Regions from separate parts of the Homo sapiens genome. Here region 2 is linked to region 1. Evidence: promoter capture Hi-C in human tissues and cell types (Jung and others, 2019). All regions are on one chromosome and are shown on one strand. The core of a region is centred on a gene start or on the middle of the fragment in contact, and the rest is flanking DNA. Distances in the headings are between cores, read along the strand shown. Region 1 holds the start of NOP56 (NOP56 ribonucleoprotein). Region 2 overlaps FKBP1A (FKBP prolyl isomerase 1A).

What was found. The method cuts DNA at HindIII sites, captures the fragments that hold promoters and counts their contacts. A contact is called where the count stands out against the background at its distance.
Region 2: a fragment that was not itself captured here is called in contact with the fragment with the promoter of NOP56 in region 1 in 1 of the 25 tissues and cell types used here (dorsolateral prefrontal cortex).

What each region holds. Positions count from the first base shown.
Region 1 is chr20:2,651,254-2,654,454 of GRCh38, forward strand. It overlaps NOP56 (NOP56 ribonucleoprotein), which reads left to right and starts at 1,379. Exons shown (of 12, transcript NM_006392.4): 1 at 1,379-1,410; 2 at 1,589-1,678; 3 at 2,026-2,140; 4 at 3,161-3,201. The coding sequence starts at 1,408. MIR1292 (microRNA 1292) reads left to right here and starts at 1,524; the gene lies at 1,524-1,589. LOC105372505 (a long non-coding RNA gene) reads right to left here and starts at 1,211. Exons shown (of 5, transcript XR_007067502.1): 1 at 1,107-1,211. It overlaps SNORD110 (small nucleolar RNA, C/D box 110), which reads left to right and starts at 2,959; the gene lies at 2,959-3,033. RefSeq lists a silencer at 863-1,502 and an enhancer at 2,003-2,092. The HindIII fragment of the contact is 12,812 bases long and covers 1-3,201 here.
Region 2 is chr20:1,386,340-1,389,108 of GRCh38, forward strand. The region is part of intron 2 of FKBP1A (FKBP prolyl isomerase 1A); the gene reads right to left. All of the region lies in intron 2 of FKBP1A-SDCBP2 (FKBP1A-SDCBP2 readthrough (NMD candidate)), which reads right to left. Among named protein-coding and RNA genes, the nearest start is that of MIR6869, 5.2 kb to the right of the region's middle. The HindIII fragment of the contact is 7,512 bases long and covers 1-2,769 here.

The DNA of each region.
Region 1 (3,201 bases), core at 129-2,628:
CTGTAACTCCAGGAAGATTCAGGATTAAGGGCAGAAATAATGAAGTAAATTGAAGTATTAGCATTAGTATTTTCCATTACATTTTGGAATCGTCTATTTTGATGTATTCACGACGGTTAAAATAATTTAACATGCTAATGTATGGATTAACTTGGCAATTCCATTTTAAAATATTAAATGGAATAACGATTCTGACTCGTAAGTAGACATGTGTAACAGAATTCAACCACATCTGTAAACCATATTGAAATTATGAGAGTAAGATTTACCAACCACATTTAGGTTTGACATATTAGATTTGTGAGTGAACTATGTACTTGGATTTTGTCAAGTAACTCAATCGCTTAACAAAATAACAATTAAATGTATAAATGCAGTTTATAGCTATACATTATTTTTAAAAATCCCCTTCGAATGACTCTTTAAAACATACCAGGGGATACGCTACTTAAGTATAACTAGGTTTTGGATTTATAACGTTAATATTAATTATTAAAGCAAAACTCATTTCTAAAGAGTCGCCTGAGTGCCCAAAAGACGCCCTCAAGGACAGGGAAGCAGCTGCGATTCACTCAGCGATCACCAGCGCCCAGAATTCAGGGCCGCCCAAGCGGAGGAGCAACACGTGGCCCAGCAAAAGGAGCTGGGTCCCGTGCAGCACAGCAACAAGAAACTGGCCTAGGAAGACGCTGGAGCGTCTTTCTTTCGCACGTTACTGCCTGCTACAGTCATTTAAAAAAAAAAAACCAAAAACAAAAAAAAGAAATAAATTAATAGTACGAAGAAAACTGCGCGAGCTACATTCCCAGCAGGGTCTGCGCCAGAGCGCGCCAGGCACCGCTCCCGTTACGGGTGGGAGGAAAGGATGCACCGCCCACCCGGCGCCGGGGAGGCTCGTCCCCGAGTAGGGGACGGGAACGCCTGGGTCCCGGGGACGTGGGGCGCAGGGTCTGGGGCCCGAGGCCACGGACGAAGCGGGAAGCCGGCTAGGCAGCGGTCTCTGTCTGGGATGGACGCCGCGCCCCACGCGGACCTCCCGCCCCGACTTCACCCAGCTCTGCTGCCCGTAACTCATATGACAAGAACATCAGGAACCGGACTATTACCCCGAAAGGGCCTTCCCAAGTCGTTTCGCCGCCTGCAGTGCCCGACCGGGGGCCGCGCGTCCCCGGCAACCACGCCCGCCCGCGCAGCTGCAGAGGCCGGAAAAGGCCCGCTCGCCCGCGCTCGGCACCACCCAGCCCGCGCTCCGGGCGATACCACCCTGGGCGGCCCCTCCAAAGGCCGGAGATGGTGTCGTCCCCGGCCTCCGATTGGTCGGGGGGGCGGGGGCGTGGCCTCTGGAGCCTGGTTCCGCGCGCCGGAGCGCGCTAGCCGCATTGCGAGCCGAACCCGGGAGCTGGCGCCATGGTGAGGAGTGGTTGCGGGGCGCGGGCGACGCGACGGTGGGGGTTTCGGCCTGCGTTCGGGCCGCAGACAGGGCCTGGGCCTGGGCCTGGGCCTGCGCCTGCGCCTGCGCCTGCCCTGGGAACGGGTTCCGGCAGACGCTGAGGTTGCGTTGACGCTCGCGCCCCGGCTCCCGTTCCAGGTGCTGTTGCACGTGCTGTTTGAGCACGCGGTCGGCTACGCGCTGCTGGCGCTGAAGGAAGTGGAGGAGATCAGTCTGCTGCAGCCGCAGGTGGGTGAGATCCGTGGGCTCCTTTGGCGGCCCCGCAGACCCTCATCGCGCGGGTCCCAGCATGCACAGCGCGCTCCCACGTGGCCGGCCGAGCGGTTCGGGGCGGGGGGACGGGCCTGGAAAGCTCTAGATCCGGGGGTCTTTACCTTGACCCATGGGTAGAATCGCTCTAGCAATTAGAAATAAGCCTCCCGGACGCCGCCCCCGAACGATTAAAGCAGAAGCTGGGATGTGGGGCCCAGGTATCAGCATATTTTAAGAGCTTCCAAGGCTGAGAACCGCTGCTTGACTGCGCCGCAGAGGCAGGAGGGAGGGAAGGAAACCACTTAGCCTCTTTCTCCCCCCAGGTGGAGGAGTCTGTGCTCAACCTGGGCAAATTCCACAGCATCGTTCGTCTGGTGGCCTTTTGTCCCTTTGCCTCATCCCAGGTTGCCTTGGAAAATGCCAACGCCGTGTCTGAAGGTAAGTCGGCCACCGCCAAGTGTCACAGAGAGATGTGGTTCCTTTCGGTATCCTCTCGGGCAGCTTGTGATAGTATTTGCCGTCCTTGGCTGGCTCTGAGTCTGATAGGCGTGAGGCAGTATTTGAGCCATACAATGTGTAATTTGAAATAATTGTCTTCACAGAGCTCAAGGTCTGGGAACTGTGCTAGACCAAACTGTTTAAGCAGACGATGTGGAATGTGTGTTAACGTTTCCTTGTGGGCACTGTAGTGACAAACTATTTTTTATTTTTATTTTTTTTGAGATGGAGTCTGTCCCCCAGGCTGGAGTGCAGTGGCAAGATCTGGGCTCACTGCAACCTCTGCCTCCCTGGTTCAGGCGATTCTCCTGCCTCAGCCTCCCGAGTAACTGGGATTACAGGCCTGTGCCAGCCACCACACCCGGCTAATTTTGTATTTTTGGTAGAGACGGGGTTTCACCATGTTGGCCAGGCTAGTCTCCATCTCCTGACCTCGTGATCCGCCCGCCTCGACCTCCCAAGGTGCTGAGGTTGCAGGCGCGAGCGACGGTGCCCGGCCGACAAAGGGGGGTTTCTTAAAGGGGGTCGGCTTAACACCTACTTGTGCCTGAGGTTTTGCCTAAACACAATCAAGTGTCTGGTTCTCTGCTTTCTGTTCGATTGGAAAGGGCAGTTGGGTAAACACAGGCTGAGAAAAAAAGGTTTGGTTCCAGAAGGCAAATTCTACGAAATACTCGAGGGTGTGTTACAAGCTATTATTTATTGCCCACTTGTGCTATCAGACCTGAATGCAGTTGTTCCCATGGCTGGGCCAGGCTTTGCAGTGATGACTTGCGAATCAAATCTGTCAATCCCCTGAGTGCAATCACTGATGTCTCCATGTCTCTGAGCAATGCCTGATGGGGAGGGATCTAGGTATGCCATCCCAGCGTGCTCGGTGGGACCAGGGTAGTCAGCTGAGGGATGTTAGAGTTGATCGTCCTTCAGCCTGTTAGTGGGAACTGTGTTCTTTCCCCTGAGGGGTTGTTCATGAGGACCTCCGCCTGCTCTTGGAGACCCAC
Region 2 (2,769 bases), core at 69-2,568, 1.3 Mb before region 1:
TATATTCACTGAGTGACCGAGGGAATGCCAGGTCCTAACTGGCCACTCATTCAAACAGTCACTGAATAGCTACTCTATGCCAAGACTGATGGGGAGACCTTGGAGAACAACACTAGTGTGGGTCTGGCCTCCTGGAGCCTTCAGTCGGTTGGGGAAAGAGCAGATGTTTAACTACACGGATCCTGACTATGATGGGGGCTAAGAAAATAGATGGGTGCATTGTTGCAGAATTAGAAGCATGCATGTATGCATCCAAAGTGTTACTTAAGCTGTGCTATAAAGAAAAGAGCCTGTCATGCAGTGGGGAGTGGGGGCAGTGTGGTGGCACCTAAGCAAAGGGGCAGAGACCTCCATGTGGGAAAAGGCTTGGAGCATTCGAGGAATGAATGCAGGCCAAGGTGGCTTGAGCTCCTGGGAGAGGAAGAGCAAATGTAACAGAAAGAGACAGTAGCATCTAAGAACTGGTTATTTCTACCTCCCCGACTTTCTGCACTGCTAGAATACACCTGGTCAAAATCAAAGGGGTCCAGGGGAGGGAATGCAGAGACTTGGTTAAGCTTTTTAGCAGGAAAAGAAAACAAAAAAACAGAAGAAAAAATAGAAGTAAAAATAAACAAATGTCACCATGAGCACCAAAGGGAGAACTGAATGCTATGTGATTAAGTTATTCATAACCTTGGCTTCTTCCATGGGAAACAGCAGGTGACAATATTTTTAGAGAAAATTCCAAGGCAGACAAATGATTTCCAGTTTATGGATACAATAAACCCCTCAGTAATTCATAAAAATCAGTTTAAGCCTAAAAATGTTCTAGTTAAAACATCTATGAGTAAATAGGTGAATTTATGGTATGTAAATTATATTCAATAAAGCTGTTACCAAGAAAAAAAAAGGTCATGGACCCCACTGAAAGGAACCAGAGCTCTTTGAAAGATGGCTGATAATTGGACCAGAGTAGTGAAACCGAGAAATGGATGAAGGAATGGTGGGAGCCTGTCAAAAAGGTACTGGAGCCAGCTTAAAGGGCTCCTACTGGCCAAATTTAGGATGATATTAGCATCAAAAAGAATAATGGGTATCATTGATCTTAAGGCCCTGACAAAAAATTTCAGCCCACAGTACAGTCAAAGCAAATAGAGGGGGAAAAAGTCACTTGCCCCCACTGGGAATGGCAATACCCCATCAGTTAACATTCATTTTTCATTTTAAAAATTGGTAATTAAAGGCTGGGCACGGTGGCTCATGCCTGTACTACCAGCACTTTGGGAGGCTAAGGAGGGTGGATCACTTGAGGCCAGGAGTTTGAGACTAGCCTGGGAAACCTGGCGAAACCCGTCTCTACAAAAAATACAAAAATTAGGACAGGTGGCATGCACCTGTATGCCCAACTATTCAGAAGGCCGGATGGGAGGCCGGGATGGGAGTCTGGGAGGTCGAGGCTACAGTGAGCCATGATCAAGCCACTGCACTCCAGCCTGAGTGACAGAGACACTGTCTCAAAAAATAAAAATAAAATTTGGTATTTAAAGGTAAAGAATTACTTTACCTTATCTTATAGAAGGATAACAGCTAATAAATTTAGAAAGAATGAAGGAATTTTAAAAATCAACACTTTGTGAATGCCAGTGACTTCTTCAGGGGAGAATGATCAGATGGTGTAAACACCACTAGGTGAAAGGCTGATGAGCAAGAGACCATCTATGGCTACCTAAGCACTCCACAGATCACTGCTAAATGCAAAGGGAAAAATGTACCTTTACAGAAAAGATCAAATTTAGCATCACAACTAGTGATGTTTCCCATGTGTGCTGAGGATGAAGTACTCACACTAAAATGTTTAAACGGAATCTATTCAGACACTTAAAAGATTAAACATCCGGTTCAGAAAATCAAGGCAGGGAACAAGTTAAACAATACCATGAGAAAACAGTAAGACAGATGTGGAGTATTCTATAACTAGCCTGCTCTCTTTGAAGAAATCAGAGTTATTAAGAAAAAAACAGCGTAAGGACTCTTCTAGACTGAGATTACAGACATAACAACTGCGATGAGTGAGGCTCAATGGAACTGTGGTTTTAAAAAAGAGCAACACTTTGGAGACAACTGGGTAGTCTCGATAGGCATTTGCTTCACAGCAGGCATCGTTACTCCCATTTTATAGACAGCATGTGGAAGCTGGGAACTGTGGGACAATTTGTTCAAGCTCTCATAGCCCGTTGTATGGCAGGGTCAAGATCAGAACACAGCGAAGAACCCACATGCTCTTTGGGGATCACTGTCCACCTGGCACCACTTCTGCCCACTGCCTGAGCTGGCACTCCACACACCTGGGATACAACCAGTGTCCTGTTTCTGCCTTTGCCCCCAAAAGCCCATTGTCCACACAGTAGCCAGAAGGAGCGTGGGTTGGGGGGGCGGGGGCGGGCATTAAAAGCCAAGCCAGCCAGTGGCTCTCACCTGAGTTAGAAAAAGGCAACGTTTTTATAAAAACCAACGAGGCTCCACCATCCCCTCATCTCCTGCCACATACCCTTTCACACAATCCACTTCCTGTTCCTCTAACGCACCGGTCTTCTTACTGTTCCTCTAATGCACCGAGCAGGCTCCAGCCTCAGGGTCCTGCACTAGCTCTTCCCTCTGCCTGGATACTCTAGACAGCCCTGTAGCTCCCTCTCCAATGTCCTTTGAGTGAATGTTAAAATGCCATTTTTTTCAGAGGCCTTTTCCAATCACCCTCACGAAAAGCAGCCAACTTCCCTTCCCATCCCT